Linked DNA regions of Homo sapiens: regions 2 and 3 are each linked to region 1. The links are contacts of gene promoters, found by promoter capture Hi-C in blood cells and fetal thymus (Javierre and others, 2016). All regions are on one chromosome and are shown on one strand. Each heading gives the region's core, a stretch centred on a gene start or on the middle of the fragment in contact. The rest is flanking DNA. Distances are from core to core; before and after follow the strand shown. Region 1 holds the start of IZUMO1R (IZUMO1 receptor, JUNO). Region 2 has its middle 46 kb from the start of VSTM5. Region 3 has its middle 72 kb from the start of VSTM5.

Region 1 (4,579 bases), core at 1,474-3,973:
ATTCATCCATATAAAAGAATGAAATCGTATCTTTTGCAGTAACATGGATGGAACTGAAGCCACTATCTTAAGTAAAACAACTCAAACAAAAAGTCAAATACTGCATTTTCTCACTTAAAAGTGGAAGCTAAATAATGTGTACACATGGACATAGAGCATGGAATAATAGATGTTGGAGACTCAGAAGGGCGGGAGGGGGTGAGGTATAAGAAATTACATAATGAGTACAATGTACAAAGCACAGACTTCACCACTGTGCAATATATCCATGTAACCAAACTGCACTTATACCCTTAAATTTATACAAATTTAAAAAAATTCTGAGAAATTAGATCATTATGGCTGCTACTTGATTAAAGCTCTGGAAAAGGGTGGGAGAGCTAGTTAGGAGGTTGTTGCAGTAACTGAGGCAAGAGCCGATCATGGTCCAGACAGTAAGTAAGGGATGTGAATTCAAGAGATATTTAGAAAGTTAAATCAACAGCTTCGGCGATTGGATAGACATAGAGTGAAGAATAAATTAATATCCCTATTTACCTCCCTAGACAGAAACCAATTAAGAGTTTACATGAGGATGGTCAATCAGGTTTGGGGTGAGAAGAATTCATGAGACCCAGTAAGAACTCTGAATCACTGAAGTCCCCTTCGGCTGGCCTCTGACATCAGATTCTCACCAGGAGACTCCTGGCTCTAGCTCTTCACTTTCGTAGTCTGTTCTCAAATTCAGTGGGGGAGTGACCTCAGGATGGGAGAGGGGAAGGAAGTCATCACTGCCCAGCATCTCCAGTGGCCCCAAACCAGAGCCAAGGCTGGGTTGCTTCACCTACTGCCCTGCCCTCCTTGTCCTCCCTCAGAGCCCGCTGAAGGCTGCTGTACCTCTTCTTTTGGAAACGCAAGTGTTGGTTTTGTTGTGTGTGTGTGTGTTTTAGAATAAAAATTGTCTTGAATCAGCCACTTCAAATTGCTTCATCTACAGTCAGCTTTGACTTATCTGCTTTCAGTCAGAAAACAGATTGCTATGGAAGGCTCAGTCACAATAAGGCAAAAATGAGCTTTGCTCAAGGGTCTCAAGCTGCATCTCCCGAGAGCAGATGCTGGCCGGCCTGATGGTTCTCTGAAAGGCAGCCTCACTCACTGGGTAATTCCTTCCTCCCTCCCTCCCTCCCTCCCTCCACCTGCATATGCGCTGGCTGCAATTTTAGCTCATTTCCTACAGCTTTGTCCTGGAGACTGTTATCAAGCAAGCCGCCCTTCGTCCTTCTTCACACCCTATGAAGGACAGTTGTCAGAGGACCTATTTCCATTTCAATAATTACTCTTGTGATTCATGTCTGGATTCTCGGCTCTGGCACCTCCACAGCCATTTTAAACTGAACCTTAAACCCCAAATCTCTTACCTTATCAATGCTTGGAGCTTCCTGAATATTCATGAGGAACTGAACAGAACATGACAGCCTGCTTCTCCCTCTGTCAGGCTATAGAGATGCTATTACCATTTGGTATCTGACCCTAAGGAGGAGACTCCAGGCTCTGCTTAACGTGGGGACATGGGAGACTGGGTTAATAACTGTCACTGTTCTAGAATAAAGCCAACACACGCCTCCCAATACATGCACAACCTCATTATGGCATTTAACGTTAAAAAAAAAAAAAAAGCAGACCTCACTTGAGACCCAGGCACCCAGGCAGTATCTACTCTTTTAGTCCCGGAGGTTTCTCCCTCACCTGGTCCTTAAGCATTAGATAGGGAGTCGAGAATACCTGAAATTATATCCCAGCTCTGCTACTCACCGCTGAGCCTCAGTTCCCCACAGCTAAAACAAGGAGGGTGTTCATATTGGAGGTCTTTTTGAGACCTCAGATCCTGTAGACAGTACCAGGCCAGTGCCTGGCTCCTTGTTTGTGCTCAGCATTCAGTGGCTGTGATTACCCAGGTGTGGAGAATGTCATTTTCCAACATTAGTATATGCTTTACACATCAGTTGTAGCTGAACACCACAGAATGTATTTTATTCCATTAAAAAAACGCTTTTAGTGTTTTGTTTTCATTTCCTTTGTATCAATAAAACTTCAGTGATTTCAGCTACTTCTCTTTCAGAGAGAGAAAGAGAGGACATATTATAAAAACAAAGAAATATGCTCCTTTTCCAGCATTTTTATCATCTTTGGGACTCTCCCAAGAATCCTATCCAAGTTTCCAATCTCTCCTTAGCTGAAAAGGATAGTCTTGCAAATATGATCACTGCTGAGAACACTTGTAGAATATTTCACAGGACAACGATTCCTGTATGCTAAGGGAGGCTGCTTGGCGGGTTATGGAGGGACTTTCTTTGTTTTGTTTGCTTTGGCTTTGTTTGTATGTTTAAATTCTTGGGTCCCCAAGGCCACACTTCATCTCTGCATCCTGTGTCCTCGGTCTGTGCTCCAGCAGGGACCATAGTTCCTGTGGGCTGTGCGAGGACACTGTCAGAAAAGCCACCAGGTGACTGAGCTGATGCTTGGCTAACAGTGAAGGGGCAGGTAGAGCTACGGAACAGAACATAGGAGGGGCGTGTGGAGAGAGGATAAAAGAATAAAATTTAAAACCATTAAGACTTCCTCTATCCCAGGCACAATGCCAAGGTTTTTGTTCATGAACTTTCTCTTTATTTTTCCAATCCCATAATAAAAACTTCCTTTACAGAGAGAGAAACTGACAGAGAATTTGAGTCATTTTCTCCAGGGCAGCCAGCTAGTAAGTAGCAGAGCTGACAGCCGAACCCGGTAACTTATTGTAGAGCCCCGGATCTTGCCTACGATGGGGTCTGTTTCTCTGAGGAAGCAAACTTCCTCGGAACCCACAGGCCTGCAGAGCTGGGTGAGACAGATGCTGTTTAATGAGAGCCACGTGGAGTTCTCCTCCTGCACCTGGACCTAGTAGAAATCAGACTGGGTAATAAATGGGCGGGACATGGAACTCCCCTCAGCCTCATAGTCTCAGGGGGAGGAGGGAGCAGGAGCACCTGAAGGCTCCTGCCTTGAAAGTGAGTATGAAGAGAGTGCTGGAAGGGGCAGCATCTTTCCTCCTTTTACCTAACAGATCTGATTCTTTAAAAATATTCAAGGCCATGGCTGAGCTTGAAACTGGTTGTCTGGAGAGAGAACAGCCTTAGATTTGGACTTGAGGTTGGGCTCTGAAGAGGGGGGCTGGGCTCTTCTTCCCCAGGATGTTTGAGGCTCTTAGACCAGGGTAGGCTAGAAGTTTCCAGTTTCACCATGATGGGTCCAGGTCAGGCTCCTGCCAGACTTGGGGGACTGGGGGAGCCATGGGCTCCTGGGCTATGAAGGTGAGGGGCCCTGTGTCCTAAGAGGTTGGGTGCTTGAGGCCTGGGGCCCCTCTGCCTTTTGCTTTGTTTTGTCTCTCTTTCCACTACCTCTCATTACCACTACTACCCAGAACAGAGTTGGAAATAGGAAGGGCCCTCCTCCTCATTCCTGTGATGGGGATCAGGCTTTGGATGTAGAAGGCTCCTCCTATCTGACTCATGCCTCGGCATGCCCCTGGCTCTGCAGGGCCAGCAAGGCCTCCAGCACTGTGTCAGGCCTCCAAGGATTATTCTACCTGCCCTGACATTCTGTGATGCTGCCTCCAAAAGAAGGTCCTAGGAGCAGCCAGAGTGTTGCAATTATTTGAGGGAGATTGAAGCCCATCCCCCTTTCCCAGTGCCTGCTATGATGAAGGGGGTGGAGTGGGGTGTCATTTCCATCAAGTGTGCAGCATGGGTCTCTCTGTAGCAGGCCATGGCATGCTGGTGGCCGCTCCTGCTAGAGCTGTGGACAGTCATGCCCACCTGGGCTGGGGACGAGCTGCTCAACATCTGCATGAATGCCAAACACCACAAGAGAGTGCCCAGCCCAGAAGACAAGCTCTATGAGGAGGTACAGAGGCCAGACCTGGGTATGGGATGGGGAAGATCAGGGAAGGGACACAAATGCCAAGATGGTCTCCGAACCTCATCAACCCTGATCATTTGGTTCCTGGGGTTAGGAGTTAAGCAAAGGCAACTAGATGGAAAGAGACTATGCCTTTTTGAGACCATAAGAGCCAAGCGATTCAAAGTTCCCATTTCTGAGCTGCTCTAGCCACTGGGAAAGCAGGGACCGCTGGTGATCCCAGAGATCCATTGTTGACTCGGCACAGATGAAAACAAGCCTTCCTGCCAACAGGTCCTGGGGCAACATATGACTTATGTGACCCCTCCCCAAGCTCCTAAAGGCAATTTCCAGGGATATGGGAGGAAGAACACAGCTGGCATTTGGCCTATGAGACCCTCCCACCCAATGCAACCCCAGATTCCCCTGGGTCTCTCTGGGGCTCTTCTACCTGCTTTGCCCTAAAAGGCTTCTGCTGCCTCTCAGGAGCTGAGAGCCCAGAAGTTGTGTTTCTAGAGGACTGTAGCAGCCTGTGGCAGGGGGTCATTGTGCAGGTGCCTCTGCCCTTTGGGTAAATATTGAGAGATTATCAGGGTTCCTCTTATGTAGGGGCTTACTAGCTAAAGGCATCCCACTTGCTCAGGCCTCCTAAGGGACATTTTCATTT
Region 2 (4,579 bases), core at 1,423-3,922, 410 kb before region 1:
ACAAAAGTTTAGTTAGACAGAAGGAATAAGTGTTTGGATATCCATGGCACAGTGTTGTGACTATCATTAGTAATAATGTATTCCATATTTCAAACTTGTTATGAGAGTGAATTTCAAATGTTCTCATCACAAAACATGGTAAGTATTTGAGGTCATAGATATATTAATTAGCTTAATTTAATTATTCCACACTGTATACATATATCAAAACATCACTTTGTACTCCATGAATATAAACAACTGTAATTTGTTGATTTACAGTAAAAAAAAAAAAAAGACTTGCTCAAGTTTGCATGGCTTTATTTAGCTCCAGTTCAGAACTATTGACTTCAGTCTGTTCTCTTTACCTGACCCACATTTGCCTCACCACCTGGCACCTTTGAAGGTGTGGGTTTTTGTAGTGCTTCGTGCAGTGTTTTGTAGTGCCGGATCAGATTAATATTTGGGGAGCTAGAGAGTAGACCTAGAAGAAAAACAGTCTACAGGGACTAGATTTTTTCTATTTTCTACCTAACAGGATACTATACTCACTTGTCTTTTTAGGGGAACCATAATTCAGTCAACAGATCTCAGTTCCCACTAAATTTGCTTTCGATACAGGCTTTCTGTTTAGAAATGAGTGCCAGTCCTAATGAACAGTGATATTTTTTTTTCTTATTAGACCAGAAGAAACTTGAGGGCATATATTTATAGTCATGGTGCCTGTTACAATGTTTTGGCAAAAAGTGTTTGCTGAATGAGTGCATTTTTCTGCTACGTATACAATCTAGAAGCTTATCTTCCAAGAGCTAACTATTTAATACCTTGAAGACTCAACAGGGGGTGCTCCAAGACTGCCTAGTGTAGTTCACACTTGGTGAAAAAGAATGCTGTTCACCTGCCAAGGAGCTGAAATCTGTGCGTTTTGGTTTAAAACAGGAGCAAGAAGGAGAAGGGGGAGGGAGATGAGAAAAACCTTTGGTTTTGGCATTCTTTTCATTCACAGTTGAGCCATAGTATGAGATCCTCTGTGGTTTTACTTAGGCATTTATGATTCCCTCAGATTTGAGGAGCATTTTCTAGCTCCTCTAGGGCAGAGCTCTCCTATTTTACTTTGTACTCCATACAAGAATTGATAAATTCTGGTTGAACTGAGACAGCTAGCTCTATCTGGAAGCCTGACCCCCATAAACTCTTCCCTGAATTAAGTTTCCTCCTCCTCCATTCCCTTTCTTGGTTGATGGTGTCTGCCGGCCCCAGCATTAGAGTTAAAACTTCAGAGCCACCCTGCTGCTCAGCAATTTCTCCATGAGTCCAGTTGGCATCTAGTCCCATTACCTGCAGTAGTTGTTTTAAACCTTCACTTCTCAATCCTCCCTCCTCCCTCTTTGCTCATCCCACCCCGCTGTTTCAGGAGGTGACTCTCTACTCTCTGAGCCCCAATTCACGTTTCAAGTGGAAAGCGCCTTGTGGAGTCTCCCTCAGCTTTCTAAGTGCACCTTTGGACCACTCCATACTCCCATTTGTCCTCTGTTTCCCTCCCCGTGATCCTGGAAGAGGTATCTTAGATTGTAGTCAACATGAATCCTACCCCTGTCTGGTCTTCCATTTATTTGTTCATTTATTCACCCATTCTTCAAACATTTATTAATCACTGCTATGTGATAGGTTCTGGGAATACAACAGTGAGTACAACTAACAAGGTCTACTAGGAGAGACAGCTGTTAATTGAATAACCAACCTACTGGATGAAGTGGGGTCAATGTTCTCATGCTGTGCTAAGTTGTACTGAGATAATGCAGCTTTTGTTGTTGTTGTTGTTTTTGAGATGGAGTCCCGCTCTGTCACCTAGGCTGGAGTGCAGTGGCGCAATCTCGGCTTACTGCAACTTCTGCCTCCAGGGTTCAAGGGATTCTCTTGCCTCAGCCTCCTGAGTAGCTAGGATTATAGGCACACATCACCATGCCCAACTAAATTTTTTTTTGGATTTTTAGTAGAGATGGGGTTTTGCCATTTTGGCCAGGCTGGTCTCAAACTGCTGACCTCAAATGGTCTGCCTGTCTCAGCCTCCCAGTTGCTGGGATTACAAGCATGAGCCACCGCGCCCGGCCAACACAGCTTCTTAGTTCCTATAACTGATATTTCTTCCTCAAAAGCCATTCTTCCTCACAAGCCAGTTAATAGTATCTCAGGCTCAGAGTAAGGATTCAGACTAAACACACCTGGGGAGGCAATCCCTCTGATAAATCACCTGTACCTGATGGGAAGGGGCCCTGCTTGATCCCTAAAGAAGAGCTTTGCAGGGCACAGTGGCAGGAGGGCTCACCAACAGGCTGGCAGTTCTGATTTCTCATGTTATGCTGTCCCTGTGTCTGTGTGTCAGCGCCCCCCATGGCCTGTGTGGGGGGATCAGAGCATACCTGGGTGGGTCAGGGTTGTGGACATGCAGTACCCACAGAAGGACATGGAGAGGATTCTGGGAACAAGAGGAGGCAGGACCTGGTGGGTTTCTGGGACAGGTCCATGCCCAGGGTTATTAAGTCCTAGGTTCTATTATATGAAAATCAGGTTAAGATGAAAGCTAAGTGGGTCAAAACGGAGGGAACTTGAGGTGTGAGGAGTTTCTGAGCAGACACTGGGAAGGTGAGGCCTGGATGAAGGTCCTGAGCTGGAAGAATAAGAATCTGCTGGCTGGACGTGGTGGCTCACACCTGTAATCCCAGCACTTTGGGAGGCCAGGCAGGTGGATCATTTGAGGTCAGGAGTTCGAGACCAGCCTGGCCAACATGGTGAAACCCCATCCCTACTAAAACAGAAAAATTAGCCGGGTGTAGTGGCAGGTGCCTGTAATCCCAGCTACCTGGGAGGCCGAGGCAGGAGAATCGCTTGAGCCCGGGAGGTGGAAGTTGCAGCGAGCTGAGATCATGCCACTGCACTTCAGTCTGGGTGACAAGAGTGAAACTTCATGTGAAAAAAAAAAAAAATCTGTTTCATAGCTCTTCAGTCACCTGTCACTCACTCATATCTGAAATTCCACCATTAGCCCCTTACTCTTCTGACTCAAGGTTTCAGCCTATATCAAAAGGGAAATAGTGTCTCAGGGAAGGGACATGGAGCTCCTCTCACCTCTTCTATCCCTACCATCAGATTCAAATAGCAGCTGCTGGTAGTTTGTATTTCTCTGGGATCAGTGGTGATATTCCCTTTATAGTTTTTTATTGTGTCTATTTGATTCTTTCTTTATTAGTCTTGCTAGCGGTCTATTTTGTTAATCTTTACAAAAAACCACCTCCTGCATTCATTGATTTATTTGAAGGGGTTTTCTTGTCTCTATCTCCTTCAGTTCTGCTCTGATCTTAGTTATTTCTTGTCTTCTGCTAGCTTTTGAATTTGTTTGCTCTTGCTTCTCTAGTTCTTCTAGTTGTGATGTTAAGGTGTTGATTTTAGATCTTTCCTGCTTTCTCCGATGGGCATTTAGTGCTATACATTTCCCTCTACACACTGCTTTAGCTGTGTCCCAGGGATTCTGGTACATTGTGCCTTTGTTCTCATTGGTTTCAAATAACTTATTTATTTGTGCCTTAATTTCATTATTTACCCAGTAGTCATTCAGGAGCAGGTTGTTCAGTTTCCATGTAGTTGTGCAATTTTGAGTGAGTTTCTTAATCCTGAGTTCTAATTTGATTGCACTGTGGTCTGAGAGACTGTTTGTTATGATTTCTGTTCTTTTGCATTTACTGAGGAGTGTTTTACTTCCAATTATGTGGTCGATTTTAGAATAAGTGCGATGTGGTACTGAGAAGAATGTATATTCTGTTGATTTGGAGTGGAGACTTATGTATATGTCTATTAGTTCGCTTGGTCCAGAGCTGAGTTCAAGTCCTGAATATCCTTGTTAATTTTCTGTCTCATTGATCTGTCTAATATGGACAGTGGGGTGTTAAAGTCTCCCACTATTATTGTGTGGGAGTGTAAGTCTCTTTGTGGTTCTTTAAGAACTTGCTTCATGAATATGAGTGTTCCTGTATTGGGTGCATATATATTTAGGATAGTTAGCTCTTCTTGTTGCATTGATCCCTTTATCATTATGTATTACCCTTCTTTGTCTTTTTTGATCTTTGTTGGTTTAAAGTCTGTTTTATCAGAGAATACTATAAACACCTCTCTGCAAATAAACTAGAAAATCTAGAAGACATGGATAAATTCCTGGACACATATACCCTCCCAAAACTAAACCAGGAAGAAGTCAAATCCCTGAATAGACCAGTAACAAGTTCTGAAATTGAGGCAGTAATTAATAGCCTACCAACCAAAAAAAAAAAAAAAAAAAAAGCCCAGGATCAGATGGATTCACAGTCAAATTCTACCAGAGTTACAAACAAGAGCTGGTACCATTCCTTCTGAAACCATTCCAAACAATGGAAAAAGAGAGACTCCTTCCTAACTCATTTTATGAGGCCAGCATCATCCTGATACCAAAATCTGGCAGAGACACAACAACAACAACAAAAATTTCAGGCCAATATCCCTGATGAACATCAATGTGGAAATCCTCAATAAAATATTGGCAAACTGAATCCAGCAGCACATCAAAAAGCTT
Region 3 (4,579 bases), core at 1,090-3,589, 380 kb before region 1:
CAGAGTGTAGAAGGGTCAATGCGTAGGAGCTCCTAGCATTAAGGATATGAGTGTATGTGTTTGTGAAAGTGTAATGAATACCAAATGTAGAGCAACAACAAAATGTCCAACTCTAAGAAAATCAGAATTTATTGCTACAGTGAAAGTTGTCCGGGAGGGCCAGTGAATTTTAGCTAGGCGTTTGGGCCAGAGTTTTATTCTCAAGAAACCAGGTCTGGGAATGGTTACTGCACCTCTGAGGCAATGCCTAGAGGCTTGTATGTGTCTCTCAGAAGTCATGGTGCTTGCTCACCCAAGATTTGCCTCAGGTTAGACCAATTATAATTTTTTTTTTCTGTTTCCACTGGCCGAGAAATGTCATTGTTGATAGAAAAACCCCTGTATGTTCCAGGCCATCATTTCTGGCAGTTCTTGGGTTTTCTTGGTGAAAGAGTCATGAACATGGTGAATCTCTCCATTATCCTTAGTTTGCCCATTGAGTTGCCAGACTGCCCCAGCATTTCCTCCTTGGAGCATTTCAGATAAGGGGCTATCTGTGTTCCCTCAGGTGAGGAGGCTAAGATGGTTTGATGTAATGATGTGGGGCTGCAGGTGATCTGTCTGCCTGCTTGGGGAAGAGTATGAAATAGTTTCTGAATTTTTCCCAGATCTATAGCACTAGCCATTCTGATAAGCTAATTCATACAAAGGTCAGCCTCGTGTGATGGGTAGAGCTTTGGATTTTGAATCGGAAGATTTGGGTTTGAGTGCTTGCTTGTATGTGATTACATACAAAACTGTGCATCGACTGACAACCTCTCTGAATCTTGCCTTTTTTGCTTAGTGACATAAGTACATTGATATCTCACTATTTCTACATGAGTTGTTTTGGGGATCAGTTGGATAATGAATGTGAATGGTAGGGGGCCATATGGAGGAAGGGATTTATAAAAAGTGCTGGGATATAGTTACAGGTCTAACCAACATGCCAGGTAATGTCTGCATTTTAATTAAGCTTTCTAAAGACCATACTCTTCCTTTATTGTCATGCTCAGATGAAACTCCATTTCAGGTCACTCTCAAGTAACATAGCTAAGAACTCAGGGCCTAAAATAACATGTGGCATAGAATAAGCAATCGAACATTGGTTGACTGGATGACAGAATGATTGGGTGTGTAATGGAATGTGATTAAGTATACACCTACTGGATATTGTGGGGAGGATTTATTTACTGGGCATAAAAAGGGTACCTATAGATACAGAATTTGGATGCCATAAAGAATAAACAAAGGAAGCTCTAGGTTGCTCAGTAGAGAGTTTTTTAAAATGCTGCATTGCTTATTACAGATTATAAATTCAGTATTGTCTCTAGTAATTTCAAAATAATTGAGTGTGTCAATTATTAAACTCTTGGTTGCCAGCTTCAATGATTAAACTCTTGGTTCCCAGCTTTCTTTCTTTTTTTTTTTTTTCTTTTTTTTTTTTTTTTGAGACAGTCTCGCTCTGTTGCCCAGGCTGGAGTGCAGTGGCGCAATCTCGGCTCACTGCAACCTCCGCCTCCTGGGTTCAAGCGATTCTCATGCCTCAGCCTCCCGAGTAGCTGGGACTACAGGCGTGTGCCACCACGCCCGGCTAATTTTTTTGTATTTTTAGTAGAGACGGAGTTTCACTGTGTTAGCCAGGATGGTCTCGATTTCCTGACCTCGTGATCCACCCGCCTCAGCCTCTCAAAATGCTGGGTTCTCAGCTTTCTATACTTGGGCTTTGGGGCTGGGACGCTGCAAATCACCTTTCTCCTTTACCAACTGCTCACTCGTTGACTCTGCCAGTAGAGGGTGCTAGAGGAAGGCTGGAGGAAGAGAAAGAAACATGACTCTTCTCATTGGCTTATTGTGCCTCTCAGATACCCCAGCAATGCTTCTTCACCTTGGCAGGGCCAGTTTGTTTCAGTGGCATCAGCTGAATCCAGTTAGTGGTTTCCCCAACAATTGCAGAATCAGCCTCACAGCAATGTTGCTCTCTGCCTAACCTGGGCCACCAGCTCCAGTGGCCAGTGCCTCTTTCTCAGAGGTGCCCTTCCTCAGAAGGGTCCTAGGCCCCACAAAATTTCTCCTCTAAGTGTCTAGGTTTCAATAATTCCAGCCTCTTCCCTTTGTTTCCCCAGTCCTAGGGATGGGAACTACATCCTGCACTTGCTACCTTTGTGATAAATTTCAGTGTTCTCCTTTTGCTGTTTCAGTTCCTCCAAATCTACTAACCATTCTTTATATGAAATTCTCTCTGTTAAAATAGCTAGCATGGAGACTTATGATTTCTGGTTTGGCACGTTAGAATCCTAGAAGTCACACTCCATCCTAACAAGTAAAAAGCTGAGCAAACTAAAAAAAAATTAACTCTTCTTAGATCCACAAGAGAAGTGAGGTCACTGGGAAAATTGTGCTTCCCAAACTGGAGACAGACAGGCAAATACACAGAATCACAACTTATAGGAGCAGAAACCCACTAGCAGAAACCTCTGTGGAACCACTGCCAATGTAGGAAAACTTGAATCATAATTGACCAATTGCTGGAGGCTTAGTGTGGACAAGCCTGATAGATAAAAACTCCAGGGACCAAGTTAGCAGGGTCCCCCATGCTTTTTTGAGTTTTGCTTCTTGGAGCTCTATCAGGTTCTCTCAGTGAATATGGGAGAAAAATCCCCTTTGGCTTCCAGCAGGGAGAGGAAAAAAAAGAATCATTTGAAATATACCAGAGCCTTCCATTCTTCTTAACAAGGTCTGCCTTCAGGAGAAACTATTTAATCAGGTAAAATATTTACCTGTTGTTTTTGTTGTTGTTGTTGTTATTTTTTTTGTTTTGTTTTGTTTTCCAGCGCCTTACTGACCTGGGGGAAGGGAAACATCCAACTCTAACTGCTTCTGGCCTTCCACGTGGGAGAAGGGAAATACCCACCTCCAGTTCACTCTAGCCATCCTGTTCCACATAAAGGGGAGAGAGGAATGCAGAGACGTGTGAAGTTCATAGTCCAGAGGCACAGGCTCACTAAATGACTGAACCTAGTCACAGGACTATAGCATGCTTCCCTTTCCCCCACACGATACTACCACCTTGCTAATGGCCTATTTACAGTAGTTCCTTTTACTCAGAACATCATGTCTGCCTACCAGGAAAAAGTTACAAGGCAAATAACACAGTTTGAAGAGACAGAGCAAGCATCAAAACCAGACTCAGATATGGCAGAGATGTCAGAATTATCAGACCAGAATTTAAAAACTATGGTTAATATGCTAAAAGCTCTAATGGATAAAGTAGACACCATGCAAGAACAGATGGGCAATGTAAGCAAGGAGATGGAAATTTCAAGCAGAACCAAAGAGAAATGCTAGAGATGAAAAACATTATAACAGAAATGAAGAATGTTTTTGATAGGCTTATTAGTATACTGTACACAACTAAGGAAAGAATCTCTGAGCTTGAAGATCAAAGAGATCTAAAACGAAAATCAAACTAAAACTAAAAATCAAAGAGAAAAAAGACAAAAAAAATCCCCAGTATATCCAATACCTGTGGGAAAATTACAAAAGGTGTGACATACATGTAATAAAAATACCAGAAGGAAAATAGAGAAAGGAATAGAAATATTTGGAATGATGATGATTGAGAATTATTCCAAAATTAATGCCAGACACCAAACTACAGATCTAGGAAGCTTAGAGAACATAGAGCAGAATAAGTGCAAAACAAAACGAAAACAAAAACCTCAAACAATTAAAAAACAACAACAACAACAAAAACCCCAAAACAATGCCTAGGCATATCATATTCAAACTACAAAAAATCAAAGATAAAGAATCCTGAAAGAAACCAGAGGCAAAAAAAAAAACTTACCTATAAAGGAACAAAGATTAGAATTACATACAACTTCTCAGAAACCAAGCAAGCAAGAAGAGAGTAAAGTGAAATATTTAAAGTTTTGAGCACGAACTCCCCGCCAACCTAGAATTCTGGACTCTGTAAAATTATACTTCAAAAGTGAAGGAGAAATAAATAATGTTTCAGACAAAAAAATTGAGGGCATTTGTTTCTAGTAGACTTGCCTTATAAGAAATGTTAAAGGAGTTCATTAGAGGGAAGGAAAACGATATGGGTAAAAAACTCAGATATACATAAAGAAAGGAGTCACATCAGAGAAAAAAACTATTTAAAGTAAAATCTTTTATTTTTCTTATTCTTAGCGGTTCTAACAGATAATAGCTCATTCAAAGTAATAATATCAACAATATATTCAATTATAAATACCTGCTTATCTTTCTTTTTTTTGAGACAGAGTCTCCCTCTGTCTCCCAGGCTGGAGTGCAGTGGTGCAATCTCAGCTTGCTACAACCTGTGCCTTCCAGGCTCAAGTGATTCTCGTGCCTCAGCCTCCCGAGTAGCTGAGATTACAGGCATGCACCACCACACCCAGCTAATTTTTGTATTTTTTGGTAAAAATGAGGTTTCACCATGTTGGCCAGGCTGGTCTTGAATTCCTGGCTTCAAGTGATCTACCCGCCTTGGCCTCCCAAAGTGCTGGGATTACAGGAATGAGCCAGTGTGCCC

What was found. The method cuts DNA at HindIII sites, captures the fragments that hold promoters and counts their contacts. A CHiCAGO score of 5 or more calls a contact.
Region 2: a fragment that was not itself captured here is called in contact with the fragment with the promoter of IZUMO1R in region 1 in 1 of 17 cell types (erythroblasts); the score reaches 6.5 in erythroblasts.
Region 3: a fragment that was not itself captured here is called in contact with the fragment with the promoter of IZUMO1R in region 1 in 2 of 17 cell types (endothelial precursors and M1 macrophages); the score reaches 6.7 in endothelial precursors.

Annotation. Positions count from the first base shown.
Region 1 is chr11:94,301,857-94,306,435 of GRCh38, forward strand. It overlaps IZUMO1R (IZUMO1 receptor, JUNO), which reads left to right and starts at 2,724. Exons shown (of 5, transcript NM_001199206.4): 1 at 2,724-3,023; 2 at 3,775-3,918. The coding sequence starts at 3,781. The HindIII fragment of the contact is 9,583 bases long and covers 1-4,579 here.
Region 2 is chr11:93,894,735-93,899,313 of GRCh38, forward strand. It overlaps the pseudogene LOC101060084. Among named protein-coding and RNA genes, the nearest start is that of VSTM5, 46 kb to the left of the region's middle. The HindIII fragment of the contact is 3,803 bases long and covers 772-4,574 here.
Region 3 is chr11:93,920,073-93,924,651 of GRCh38, forward strand. It overlaps the pseudogene LOC101060084. Among named protein-coding and RNA genes, the nearest start is that of VSTM5, 72 kb to the left of the region's middle. The HindIII fragment of the contact is 2,695 bases long and covers 993-3,687 here.